Linked DNA regions of Homo sapiens: region 1 is linked to region 2. Evidence: promoter capture Hi-C in 16 types of primary human blood cells and fetal thymus (Javierre and others, 2016). All regions are on one chromosome and are shown on one strand. The core of a region is centred on a gene start or on the middle of the fragment in contact, and the rest is flanking DNA. Distances in the headings are between cores, read along the strand shown.

Region 1 (2,700 bases), core at 46-2,545, 300 kb after region 2:
ATACAAGATAGAACTAAACCACACAGAATAAAGATTACTCATGGAAGCTGAGAGTGCAATGGACTCAGGTGGGTACTGCATATGGTTCCAGAGGTTGCCGATCTGGGAAAAGCTCCTCCTTTCTGTGTCAACCTGAAATTGTTAGCAGTGGTGAATCTGTATGGGTCTGCACCAACCTGAATTCTTGACACACCAAGGCAAATTTTAGAGCAGGAATGAAAGTTTATTATTAAAAAGTTCTAGAGCAGGAACGAAAGGAAGTAAAGTACACTCGAAAGAGGACCATGAGGGCAACTTGAGAGATTCAAGTGCACGATTTGACCTTTGACTTGGGGTCTTATACATTGGCATGTTTCTGAGATCTTGCATCTCTTCTCCCCTGATTCTTCCCTTAGGGTGGGCGGTCTACATGCTCAGTGGCCTGCCAGCACTTGGGAGGGGCCACATGCACAGTGTGTTTACTGGAGTTGTATGCATGCTCATCTGAGGCATTCTTCCCTTACCAGTTGAGTGTTCCTAGAGGAAGGTCATACACCAGTTAAACTCTGCCATTTTGCCTCTTAGTGCTCATGCTTGACCCCACTCACCCAACTCCTAAGATCTTATTTGGAAGCTGCTGATTAACAGCTTCAGGTGTTATCTATCTATTAGGACACAGCTTTCCCTGGCACCAGCTGCAATCAATTATTTTAAAGCAACAGTTTAGCAACTGCCTGATTATCACCTGGTGATTGTCTGACATTCCTGGTTTGGGGGAGGGCCTCTCCTGCCCTGCTCATGTCTGCCTAACTACCTACAGTATCAAAATGAGCAAGAGAGACCAGTTCTCAAAACAAAGAGTTTACTTGCTAATAGCCAAGGAATTGCAATCTGGGATGCATGTGCTTTTGTGGACCATAAGCATATTTGAGGGGTTGGGGCAAGAGGAAGCTTTTGAAGGCAAAAAAGAGTAAGTGCATGTAAGATATTTTGAAACATAAATTACTGTTCACAGGGGCTTATTGCAGGCAGTGTTTGTTCATTGGTGGTGCTGGCTGTTGCTAGCAGAGGTGTAACTGAACTCAGGTCTGGGCCACTTGTAGCTTGAAAGGCAAAAACTCAAGAGACAAGCTTTGGTGAAAGGAAAGTTAGCTTTATTCAAGAAGCCAGCAACCCAGGGAAGGCAGTGAACTAGGGTTCAAAGATCACCTTTCTGAGTCATGCTTCTAAATCAGGGGTTTTTAAGGGAAATTAGGGAGAATAATGAAAACATTCTTGTGAAACGTGGGCATTCTCAGGTGGGCATTTAATCCTTGCCTTCTTGGTCAATGCTTTGTGGCCTTCTGTGGGTATGGTCAGGCCGGCCAATTCATTCCCAGAGCTGTTGGTTGGCACATTTTAAAAAATCTCTGTTGAAGGTCCTCTTTTTCTGAGGCTGTTTTTAGTGAATAATCTAAAGACTCAAGCAAAGCAATAATTGTATTCAAGCAAGCAAGCTTTCCTCTAACATGGAGTCAGTACTGTTACAGAGGCTCTTCATAGAAGAGCCCCTTCTTCCATGGAAGTGACTTAACTGAAAGTTCTGATAGGGAAAGTCACCTGCTTATGTCACAGCTCTGCACTGGCCCACCCCACTTGCCCCTGCAGTGACTTAGGTCACCACTGTGCAGGCCTGGCTTAAGTCAACCCATGCCACCCCCTTGGGTTGTCAGCCTTAGAAAGACTGGCTTCCTAAAAGAAAACATTTTATTTGAGAATAGCAAAAGATTGCAACCAAAGGTATGCATGTATGATATTGTGAAATATACATATTTAGGCTTTGTCTCCATTTTGGGGGCTCAGAAACAGATATCCCCAAAATATGGCGCTTTGACATGCAGAAATGAAGAAGCTGCAAGGTCTCTCTGACCTTCCCCACCTCATGTCTCCCAATTCTCTGTCTCTCCCAAAGCACAGGATAAAGTTGTTCTCTGAAGCTCCCTTATCTGCCTAAAGAAGGAAACAATTATCTCTGGTCCCTTCCCTGAGTTTTTATTAACTGAATTCATATTGCAGGGAGAAAGTCTGAAGTCAGTCCACCTGGACAGATGTCACAAACCACCGTCTACCCTCTGAGCCCAACAGACTTCGTGGAGGCCATTGTATGTTCTTCAAGCCCATTGAACTCCCCTAAAAATCATTTACTGAGCTCCTAAAATCATTTATGCTTCCCCATCTCCCTTGCCCTTAAGGGCAAGTAACCATCTGTACCCCACTCAGTGGTGGGGTAGTCACTCTGAGATTTTCTCCCATCATATTAATAAATTTGTGTGTCATATATATTCATCGCTGTTTTGTCAGATGATTTTCAGCAAATCTTGAGGGTGAAAGGTCTTTCCTGGCATACAACACCTGAAGTCCTTGAAATCTCTATAAGTAAGTGATTTTTTGTATGCTAATGAGTTGGCTGGTGGCTGGCAGCCCCTAGGTAGCTTCAGAATGGGGCTGGTCACTGAAAAGATCAAGGCAGGATTGGAATTTTCAGCCTCATCCCCACCTCCCCATGTCTGGGGAGGGGAAAGGGACTGAAGGTTAAACTGAGTACCTATGGCCAGTGATTTAGTCAATCATGCCTAAGTAATGAAGCCTCCATAAACACCCCAAAAAGACTAGGTTTGGAGAGCTTGGGTAGCTGAACACGTGGAGGTTCATGGAGGGTGGCTGACCCACAGAAAGCGTGGA
Region 2 (2,700 bases), core at 111-2,610:
TGGCCCCCCCCTCCCTGGGCTCCAACTTTAGGGATCAAATTTCAACTTGAGAGTTGGAGGAGATTTGGAAGCTTCCACCTCCCGTCCTTGATGATAAGAACGTTCCCTTGCTTTTACTATAAGGAGAACATCTTTCATATGGGAATTTCATCTCTTGTATTTAAGAAACAACAAGAAATTCAGAATGATCTTCCTACACCTGCTTCTTCTTTTTTTTTTTTAAGTGCCTTTATCTCAAAATAGACAATATGCCAGAAAGGCACATCTTTACCTTCTTCAGAATCCTAAGGCTCATCTAAGCCGTACAGGTAAGGGAGTTCTTTGCAGGTCATAAAAAGTGGGAGATTCCTTTAACTCTGGCTGCATCCCAGAGCTTTGTCACTGTGTAAAAGTGGAATGCCGGCCGGGCACGCTGGCTCACGCCTGTAATCCCAACACTTTGGGAGGCCGAGGCGGGCGGATCACGAGGTCAGGAGATCGAGACCATCCTGGCTAACATGGTGAAACCCCGTCTCTACTAAAAATACAAAACAAAATTAGCCAGGCATGATGGCGGGCACCTGTAGTCCCAGCTACTCTGTAGGCTGAGGCAGGAGAATGGCGTGAACCCGGGAGGCGGAGCTTGCAGTGAGCTGGGATTGCGCCACTGCACTCCAGCCTGGGCGACAGAGAGAGACTCCGTCTCAAAAAAAAAAAAAAAAAAGTGAAATGCCAGCTGGGCCTGGTGGCTCATGCCTGTAATCCCAGCACTTTGGGAGGCCGAGGCGGGTGGATCACCTGAGGTCAGGAGTTCGAGACCAGCCTGGCCAATATGGTGAAACCCCATCTCTATTAAAAACACAAAAAATTAGCCAGGCATGGTGGCGGACACCTGTAATCCCTGTAATTCCAGTTACTCGGGAGGCTGAGGCAGGAGAATCGCTTGAACCTGGGAGGTGGAGGTTGCAGTAAGCAGAGATCACGCTATTGCACTCCAGCCTGGGCAACAAGAGTGAAACTCCATCTCAAAAAATAAAAAAATAAATTAATTTTTTAAAAAAGTGGAATGCCATGTGCTGGCTTCTGGAAGGCTCTTGCCACCCAAGTCATGGGGAAGGGAGAAGAGGAGCGCTGAGAAGACATGAGGAAGCTTGTGCTGGAGAGAGATGATCCCCACCACCGCGGCCTACCCGCATCAACCCTTCACAATGCTGGTGCCAGCTCTGGTGGCCACGACCAACAGGCATGAATATAAGGGAGAGGCGCCCGAGTGGAGTTCCCTGTGGGCCAATCAGAGAGCAGTGGGCCATCACGCCACCTGAGGCCAGCCAATGGGAACGCGGCAAGCTCTATAAAAGCGAGCAATCCGCTGAGGTCTGGGCAGAGGACACCGCGGGGCCAACAGTTTCGGATTCATGGCCCGAACCAAGCAGACTGCGCGCAAGTCAACGGGTGGCAAGGCGCCGCGCAAGCAGCTGGCCACCAAGGTGGCTCGCAAGAGCGCACCTGCCACTGGCGGCGTGAAGAAGCCGCACCGCTACCGGCCCGGCACGGTGGCGCTTCGCGAGATCCGCCGCTACCAGAAGTCCACTGAGCTGCTAATCCGCAAGTTGCCCTTCCAGCGGCTGATGCGCGAGATCGCTCAGGACTTTAAGACCGACCTGCGCTTCCAGAGCTCGGCCGTGATGGCGCTGCAGGAGGCGTGCGAGTCTTACCTGGTGGGGCTGTTTGAGGACACCAACCTGTGTGTCATCCATGCCAAACGGGTCACCATCATGCCTAAGGACATCCAGCTGGCACGCCGTATCCGCGGGGAGCGGGCCTAGGAGGGCTATCTCGCCACCTGAGAGGTTGCGCAACGTTCACCCCAAAGGCTCTTTTAAGAGCCACCCACCTGGTCGAAGAGTTGCTGTAGCAAGCTAGTCTCTTGGGTTTCGGGGGGTTCCTTCCGCTGGCCTGTGCTGGCTTACCTACTTCTGATTAGGGTGGGAGGCTGGTGAATCCTGTGTTCACCCTGTCCAGTTAGGAGGCCAGCTACTCACACGCGTTACCTCTCAGCCTGTCTCCAGTCACAAATCCAGCTAGTAGTGTGTGGGGCTAACTTGGCCTATCCGTTTAGATAAGAATCATGGTTGGTCTGTTTTGGGGACGGGGTGTTGAGGGTAGCCTAATTGGTCTATCTCCAGTTAGGTAAGCAACCCCAGCTAGTTGTGTCAACTCAGCCTATCTACAGTTAGGTTGGAAGGCTGGCTGGTCTTGTGTGTTCTCAGCTCAGCCTCTTTCAAATTAGGTTAGAAGTCCTGCGTGTGTGTGTGTGTGTGTACACGCAGCTTGTTTCCAGTGAGGTTACCAGTCCAGCTAGTCTTCTGCCTTGACAGCCCATCTCCTGTTAAGGCCAGCAAGTAGTATGTATTATCTTGGCCTATTTTAAGTTAGAAGTCCAGCTACTTCACCAGCATAGCAGCTTACGCCTGTAATCCCAGCACTTTGGGAGGCCGAGGCGGGTGTATCACCTGAGGTCAGGAGTTCCAGACCAGCCTGGCCAACATGGTGAAACCCCATCTCTAAAATTAGCCGGGTTTGGTGGCGCATACCTGTAATCCCAGCTACTTGGGAGGCTGAGGCAGGAGAACTGCTTGAACCCAGGGGGCGGAGGTTGCAGTGAGCCAAGATCATGCCACTGCACTGCAGCGTGGGCAACAGAACGAGACTCAATCTCAA

The links. The method cuts DNA at HindIII sites, captures the fragments that hold promoters and counts their contacts. A CHiCAGO score of 5 or more calls a contact.
Region 1: a contact is called between a fragment that was not itself captured here and the fragment with the promoter of H3-4 in region 2, in 2 of 17 cell types (erythroblasts and total CD8 T cells). The highest score is 7.1, in erythroblasts.

What each region holds. Positions count from the first base shown.
Region 1 is chr1:228,122,189-228,124,888 of GRCh38, reverse strand. No RefSeq gene overlaps it. Among named protein-coding and RNA genes, the nearest start is that of MRPL55, 14 kb to the right of the region's middle. The HindIII fragment of the contact is 365 bases long and covers 1,113-1,477 here.
Region 2 is chr1:228,424,020-228,426,719 of GRCh38, reverse strand. H3-4 (H3.4 histone, cluster member) reads left to right here and starts at 1,360. Exons shown (of 1, transcript NM_003493.3): 1 at 1,360-1,875. The coding sequence starts at 1,395. The coding sequence ends at 1,805. The HindIII fragment of the contact is 2,523 bases long and covers 1,132-2,700 here.